Linked DNA regions of Homo sapiens: regions 1 and 3 are each linked to region 2. The links are contacts of gene promoters, found by promoter capture Hi-C in human tissues and cell types (Jung and others, 2019). All regions are on one chromosome and are shown on one strand. The core of a region is centred on a gene start or on the middle of the fragment in contact, and the rest is flanking DNA. Distances in the headings are between cores, read along the strand shown.

The links. The method cuts DNA at HindIII sites, captures the fragments that hold promoters and counts their contacts. A contact is called where the count stands out against the background at its distance.
Region 1: a contact is called between a fragment that was not itself captured here and the fragment with the promoter of CA6 in region 2, in 3 of the 25 tissues and cell types used here (IMR-90 fibroblasts, lymphoblastoid cells and mesenchymal stem cells).
Region 3: a fragment that was not itself captured here is called in contact with the fragment with the promoter of CA6 in region 2 in 1 of the 25 tissues and cell types used here (adrenal gland).

The regions. Positions count from the first base shown.
Region 1 is chr1:9,254,385-9,257,084 of GRCh38, forward strand. All of the region lies in intron 3 of H6PD (hexose-6-phosphate dehydrogenase/glucose 1-dehydrogenase), which reads left to right. Among named protein-coding and RNA genes, the nearest start is that of H6PD, 21 kb to the left of the region's middle. The HindIII fragment of the contact is 5,872 bases long and covers 1-2,700 here.
Region 2 is chr1:8,944,597-8,947,296 of GRCh38, forward strand. It overlaps CA6 (carbonic anhydrase 6), which reads left to right and starts at 1,272. Exons shown (of 8, transcript NM_001215.4): 1 at 1,272-1,369. The coding sequence starts at 1,291. The HindIII fragment of the contact is 10,958 bases long and covers 1-2,700 here.
Region 3 is chr1:8,651,123-8,653,822 of GRCh38, forward strand. The region is part of intron 2 of RERE (arginine-glutamic acid dipeptide repeats); the gene reads right to left. Among named protein-coding and RNA genes, the nearest start is that of SNORD128, 160 kb to the left of the region's middle. RefSeq lists an enhancer at 921-1,000. The HindIII fragment of the contact is 5,625 bases long and covers 1-2,700 here.

The DNA.
Region 1 (2,700 bases), core at 108-2,607, 310 kb after region 2:
ATAAGATAAAATAAACTGGAGCAGCCTGGCTCCAGAGACCACACTCCAGATCACAGCTCTGTACCACCATTCAAGGATCCAGCCAGTCACCAAGTAGTTTGTATTCATCTGCTATAATAACTTCTTTGCAGTTCACTGTGACTTCGTTCCCTCCTACCTTTGTTACTTCCTTTGATGGCAGCAAAGGCTGCCTCACTGATTTCACTACCACCAGTCCCATCCTGTTCATCTTGGAGGTCGCAGACAGCTTCATCTTCCTGAAGTACCTCTTTCGTGCTTCTGCTTCCCTGTTCTAAAACCTTTTTTAAAAAGTTTTATTGAGCTGTAACTCACAAATCCTACTACACTTTACCCAGTTAAGGTGGACAGGCCAGTGAGCTTTCGTGTATTCACAGAGTTGTGTGTCAGTACCACAATCAATTTTAGGACATGTTCATCACGGCAAAGGAAGCCCTGTACCCCTTCGTTGTCATCCCACAATTTCCCCCTCTCCCCAGCTCCTGGCAACCACAGAAATGCATTCTCTCTGCGGGGTTGCCTGTTCTGGATATTTTGTACATATAGGATCATACGGTGTGTGGTTTCCATCAGTTAGCATCCTGAGTTCAGAGTTCACCCATGTTCTAGCATGTACCAGCACTTCATTTCTTTTTACTGCTGAATAATATCTTATTGTATAGATATACCATAATTTATCCAGTCACCAGTTAGTGGACATTTGGGTTGCCTCTACTTTTTGGCTGTTATATATAATGCTGCAATGAGCATTCATGTACAAGCTTTTGTGTGGACCTGCATTTTTATTTCTCTTGAGTATAAACCCAGGAGTGGGGTTGCTGGAGGATCATGACTCTGTTTAACTGTTTGAGGCCAATAACTCTTATTTATTTATTTATTTTTTATTTTTTATTTTTGGAGACAGGGTCTTTATCTGTCGCCCTGGCTGGAGTGCAGTGGTGCAATCATAGCCCACTGCAGCCTCGACCTCCTAGGCTTAAGTGATCCTCCCACCTCAGCCTCCCAAGTAGCTGGGACCACAGGTGTATTTCACCATGCCCAGCTAATTTTTGTATTTTTTGTAGAGATGGGGTTTTGCCATGTTGCCTAGGCTGGTCTTGAACTCCTGGACTCAGGAGATCTGCCCACCTCAGCCTCCCAAAGTGCTGGGATTACAAGCATAAGCCACTGTGCCAGGCCTTAGGTCCCTTTCAAATGCAAGATATTCCTGATTTTCCTGTTCTATTATTGCAGGGGAAGGGAAGAATTGTCTTTTTACATTCTCCCGAAAAGGAGAATTGGAAGATTTGGTCACCCTGGGCCCACACTCCTGTGAGGCACCACCTGAATGCACCTGAGGTACTTAACTGTACCTCTGAGGGACACCAGCCTTACTCCATCCTTTTCGCTTTTGCTGGCCCCGGTAGGCATTGGAATCTCTGAGCTTTGCCCTAGACCCCTCCTTCCAGAAGCTCAGCCGGCTTCTTCATTGTGCTCTGTTTCTAAAGGCCAGTGGTGCCCACGCCACTCAACTTCACACCGTTCTGTTGTAGGGTTGAAGAGTGGGTAATTAAAAGGGAAATGTTTTGGTGGTAAGAATTGCAGGCTCTGGGTCGAACTGCCTGGGTTTGAAGCTATTTTTACCTCTTTACCAGCTGTGTGTGACCTTGGGTAAGTTATCCAACCTCTCTGAACTTCAGGTTCCTTATATTTTAAAATAGGGGAAATAGAGGGGCCTCCTTATATGTTGTTATTCTGAGGATAAATGGACTGATCCACAAACATTGCTGGCATCAGTTTCTCTTTTTCTGGATGTCTTCTCAACAATAGCACAAGAACTTGAAGGCCACAACACTACAGAGCTGGGGGATCTCAGCCATTGTTTTCCCAGTGGAGACCACTCTTGGCATTTTGGTTGGCACAGTTGGGCTGGACTTCCTGCTCATTTCAAGGTTTAGTATCCCTGGACAGAGCTGCACCCTCTAGCTCCTGGTTGTTATGGCCGGGGACAGAGTGCCTTCCTACGAGTGGCTGCCGGCTTCATTTCTTGCCCCCCAACACTGGTGCTGCTGTCGGGAATGGCATATCGGGCTGGATTCAGGGCAGGTTGTTCCCCCAGCCATGACCTGGACATGCTTGCTGTCTGGTTGGCCCGAGAGTGCACACCACCAACCTGGTCAGGGCAGGTGCCCAGGACTGGCGCCATGGACCCAGAGTGGCTGCTGGGAGGGGAGCATGCTGGGCTCAGCAGGCCTGAACTTAGGATCTGCTGCTTTTTGTCTGTTGGAATTAAATGTTAACTAGATACTAGGTAAATTTAAAGTTTACAGAATGCATGGAAGAGATACAGAACTATGGTATAAGAAACGGGGATGCACCTACCACCCGTTTTTAAAAAAGAATTTGATTCTCCTGCGTGTCCCTCCCCACGTTCTGACCTATTTCCTCATCTTACACTTCCAAATTGTGGATAGATTATTCCCTCGCTTCTCTTTCTGTTTCCATGCACGCCTGGTTCCCTAAACAACCTGTTGTTTAATTTTGAACAAGAGTCATCCTGTATGTGTCCGAGCATGGATCTTTTTGTCTCTGTGTCCAGCATTTGGGAGAATCGCCTCAGCTCTGTCTTCTGCTAGCTGACTCTTTACAGCTGTTTCTCATCTGTAAGGCCCATCTACTGAATTTCTAGTTTCCAATTATATT
Region 2 (2,700 bases), core at 22-2,521:
AAGAGAGAAAGGAAGAAAGAAAGAGAAAAAAGAAAAGGAAGGAAAGCTGAGGCACAGAGCGCTGAGTTGCCCATGGTCACACAGTTAGCAGGTGGCACAGATCCTGTCTAGTTTCAGAATCCTTGTCCTTGAACATGCTTTGCTCTCTCTCTGAGATTCTTTCAGCTCTTGAGCTTTAGAAATGGAAGTTTCCAGCAAGTTCTTTGCAGCAGCTGATGTTCCCTATTAAATGACAGTGGGGAGTCTTAGAAGTATTCGGGAGGCCTACGTTCACCGCTAACATCCTTGTTGTGAAGGCCTGCTGACGTTTGCCATTCCAGGACCAAGTGGACAATGAGTTAAGCTAGGCCAGGAGGGGGTTCAGCTCCCCATAACAAGGCAGGGGTGGCCCTTTGTGTCCGGCAGCATGGTAGCCCCCCCGCAGGAGCTCCGGCTACCCTTTGTGTTTGACCTTGTGGAAGGGCATGGGAAATGCTGGCCTGTCAGCAGGCATAAACTCAAAAGTTTCTCCTTCAGCTAATTTCAGGGACTGTCTAGCCAAGTGAATACACAGGATTAGGTAATCCATGGATCCTGCGAGGGCAATTGGCTGATTGGCTTAGGTGTGCCCAAGAGCCCTGCAGGTGTCAGAACAAATCCATGTAGAAATGCAGACGCCCACACCAGCTTGAATGGCATAAAGGCACACATTGGAATGTGGCTCATGAGCTGGGACCCAGGATCAACCACTGGTTTAAGGAGAGGACCGTGAAATGTCCAAACATGGAGGCCAGGCCACCTCCCTGGATGCCTGGCTGAGGGCAGCCACATGTCTGCAGCGGTGGCTTGTGTCCATGACTGAGATGGGCAGGGTTTGCAGGCAGTGGTGATCCCATCAGCAGTCCCCAGATCTCTAATGTCAGGAGAAAGAGCATGGGAAGTCCGACGTCCAGGAAAGTCTTTCATCCTGCTTCTCCCTGCCTTGGGCCTTTTCCCATTTCCGCGGTCACCTGTCCACAATGGCTGCACTGTGTGGCTCTTCAGGTGTTCCTAAGACACTGAACAACCAAACCCATGGACTGACCGGATATGAAATTGACGTGGGAGGAGATCAGGCAGGTGCTGGGGCTGCCTGGCGCAATGCACGGAGCCAGAAGTGCTGTTATGGGGAGGGTGTTATTGTTTTAGTGGGTGCAGCAAAGGGTGGTTTAGCCAGCTGGGCAGATCAATTGTAAATTGTTATTTACAGTTTCTGAGCCTTTAAAAGAAGAGCTTCGCCGGAATCAGTCTTCATTACAGATGTGCAGCACCATGAGGGCCCTGGTGCTTCTGCTGTCCCTGTTCCTGCTGGGTGGCCAGGCCCAGCATGTGTCTGACTGGACCTACTCAGGTGAGCCCCTAGCTTCTGCATGCTCCCCCAGTTACCCTCACACCCTTACAACAGGACAAGTGCCCTTCTTCTTCTTCTTTTTTTTTTTTTTAGACAAAGTCTTGCTCTGTTGCCCAGGCTTGAGTACAGTAGTGTGATGTTGGCTCACTGCAACCTCCGCCTCCCGGGTTCAAGTGATTCTGCTGCCTTAGCCTCCCGAGTACCTGGGATTACAGGTGCCTGCCACCATGCCTGGCTAATTTTTGTATTTTTAGTAGAGACAGGGTTTCACCATGTTGTCCAGGCTGGTCTCGAACTCCTGACCTTAGGTGATCTGCCCATCTCCCAAAGTGCTGGGATTACAGGCATGAGCCATTGCGCCCGGCCAAGAGTCCTCCTTTAGGGCATTTCACAGGATGGCCAGGCAGCCCACTTGCCATATGTTGGGGGTCTGCTCATTGTGGCTTCAGATGTTACCTTTTCAGTGTCTCAGAAGGTATGGAGAATAAGCTGAACTTAAACTTCAAATAAGGAAAAGAAGGAAATAGCTTTCCCCTTCACAAACTCCTGATTTACTTACAGGCTTTTTGCTTTAAATTTTTTTCCATCCACAGTGTTGGCTGGTTCAAAAGCACACTCACTGCTTCTATTTGTAAAACCATTTGCTTTGTTGGTCCGTGTAAGTGGAAAACAAAGTTCTTAGAAAAGACTCTCGGTAACCTCACGGAAGGTGCTGTGGGGTTTGCGAGACCTTCTTTCTTGGAAATTTCATGGTAGGCAGTTTACCCAGAACATCTTGACATAAGGACCCAGTTCCCTTTGATCTGTGGGCTGCCAAAATGAGAGGTGTTTTTTTTTTTGTTTTTTTTTTTTTTTTGAGACAGAGTCTTGCTCTGTTGCCCAGGCTGGAGTTCAGTGGTGCCATCTCGGCTTACTGCAACCTCTGCCTCCTGGTTTCAAGCGATTCTCATGTCTTAGCCTCCCAAGTAGCTGGGATTACAGGCACTCATCACCATGCCTGGCTAACTTTTGTATTTTTAGTGGAGATGGGGTTTTACCACGTTGGCCAGGCTGTTCTCAAACTTCTGACCTCAAGTGATCCGCCCACCTTAGCCTCCCAAAGTGCTGGGATTACAGGCGTGAGCCACCGCGCCAGGCCCCAAACCAGACTTTTAAAATGTGAAATGTAAAATCCTGGCATTCAACATGGGTTCTGGTCCACATGTGAGCCAAAGCTAGAAGGCCGTGTCTGTGGACTTTGTGGACACTAAACAGCCCTTTCCAGGGGCAGTGAGGAGAGCTTCTTCCCGCATCCCCCTTCTTTCCATACGGGACCATGGATTGGGGCCCAT
Region 3 (2,700 bases), core at 57-2,556, 290 kb before region 2:
TAGTAATTTGGCCAGATGCAGTGGCTCATACCTATAACCCCAAGACTTTGGGAGATGGAGGCAGGAGGATCACTTGAGGCCAGGAGTTCAAGACCAGCCTGAATAACATAGCAAGACCCCATCTCTACAAAAAAATTGTTAATAGGCCAGGTGTAAGCACACCTGTAGTCCTAGCTACTCAAGAGGCTGAGGCAGGAGAAGCAATTGAGCCCAGGAGTTCGAGGATGTGGTTAACTATGATCACGCCACTACCCTCCAGTCTGAGCGACAGAGTGAGACTCTCTGTTTTTTTTTAAGCTAGTAATCCATTGAAGATATCCTTTACAACATTCTCCACAGATCCTAAGCTTTTAAGATACAACTAAGCACACAGGATCTCTGCAAGTGGGTGAGGATAATGGTTTTTCATCACTAACAAAGGATGTTATTGTAGTAGTTTATATCAAGAAAGTAAAAGACCAGGTGCAGTGGCTTAGGCCTATAATCCCAGCACTTTGGGAAGCCAAGGCAGGAGGATGACTTGAGCCTGGGAGGTCAAGGCTGCAGTGAGCTGTGATCATACCACTGACAGCCTGGATGACAGAGCAATACCCTGTCTCAAAAGAAAAAAAAAAAAAATCAGGAAACAAAACAAAGGAAAGAAAAAACTCAACCCCCATCTGGGAATCTAATCACAGTACTCTGCTGGTTTTTTTGGTTTTGTTTTTTGTTTTTTAAGAGACAGTCTTGCTCTGTCACCCAGGCTGTAATATAATGGCATGTAGTTCACTGCAGCCTTAAACTCCTGGCCTCAAGTGATCCTCCCACCTGAGACTCTCAAAGTGCTGGGATTACAGGTGTGAGCCACCTTGCCCAGCCCAGCACCCTACTTCTGATTCTTCAGTTTAAGTAACCCTAAAGAACAGACAATATTTAACAAATACTCATTTAGAGAAAAAGCTGTTTGGAGAAGGCAGCTAACTCAGCTTCAAATCCATCACCAAAACGAAAGGAAACCACTGAGAAGGTCAAAGACAGTCTCCTTACCAAATAGACATCCACTGGACCTGGCAGGATGCAAAGGCACAGCCCCCACTCAAGCAAAAGGGTGCCTCACATGGAGCTGTCTTGCTCTGGGTGCCACGGAAATCTTCCAAACCATGTGTGGCCTTTATAGATCCTTCATAATACACTTAGCTTTCAGAGACAGCATACCTTTCTCACATGTCACAAAGGTTTTCAGATTCACTGAAACACTACCAGCCTCCACAAATACATAGTTCTTGCCCAAGCACTTTAAGAACCATTCTGTAAATAAGTCCTTAGCAATCTCCCTTCACATATTCTTCCAGACTCAAGAAGGGAGGTGTATTAGTCCATTCTCACGCTGCTATAAAGAACTGCCTCAGACTGGGTTATTTATAAAGGACAGAGGTTTAATTGATCCACAATTCCACAGGGCTGGGGAGGCCTTAGGAAGCTTACAATTATGGTGGAAAGAGAAACAAACACATCCTTCTCATATGACAGTAAGAGAGAGAAGGGCTGAGCAAAGGTGGAAAGGCCCCTTATAAAACCATCATATCCTGTGAGAACTCACTCACTATCATAAGAACATGATGGCGGAAACTGCCCCCATGATTCATTTATCTCCACCTAGTCCCGACCTTGACACGTGGGGATTATTACAATTCAAGGTGACATTTGGGTGAGGACACACAGCCAAATCATTATCAGGAGGACTTCCTATAATCATAGTTCACCACGCCCAGCTAATTTGTAAAAATTTCACTACAATCATAGAGCACTGCAACCTTGACCTCCTGTGCTCAAGAGATCCTCCCACTTCAGTCTCACAAGTAGCCGAGACTAAAAGCACACGCCACTGTGCCCAGATCCAAGACTGTTTGTGGTTTGTTGGTTTATTTCTATTTTTAGGGAGATACTCAGCAGAAACAGGGTGCCACAGTCCCATAAATGGGAAAAATAGCCGGTGTTTTTCATGTTAAAGAGGTTTCCTTAACTGTCGGGCTTCTTGGAGTCACTAATTCTGACTCTCTCATGAGGGAGACTGTACAGGCAGCATTTTCCACACATATTTGACTACTATTTTTGGTGAAATGTCCCCACTGACACCAGAATAACGTTCCATATTATAAATGCTGAGAAAGGTTAGCATTCAATACTGCACAAGGCAGCTTGCCTTTTGACAGTGATCCAAACTGTATTACCACATTAAATTGTTATCAAGAGAAAGGATAATAAAAAAGTAAATCTTTCCTTATACTGAAGTTATCATAATGTAATCTATATCTAAAAGAGTTGGCCAGGCGCGATGGCTCACGCCTGTAATCCCAGCACTTTGGGAGGCCGAGGCGGGTAGATCACGAGGTCAGGAGATCGAGACCACGGTGAAACCCCGTCTCTACTAAAAATACAAAATATTAGCTGGGCGCAGTGGTGGGCGCCTGTAGTCCCAGCTACTGGGGAGGCTGAGGCAGGAGAATGGCGTGAACCCGGGAGGCGGAGCTTGCAGTGAGCCAAGATCGCGCCACTGCACTCCAGCCTAAGCAACAGAGCGAGACTCCACCTCAAAAAAAAAAAAAAAAAAAAAAGGGTTAACATGTTTTGTTCCTTTCCCATGATTTAGATGTGCGTACGCCCTAAACAAGCAATCTGTGGTAACTCTGAGAGATTCTTCAGTCACTAAGAAATTCTTAC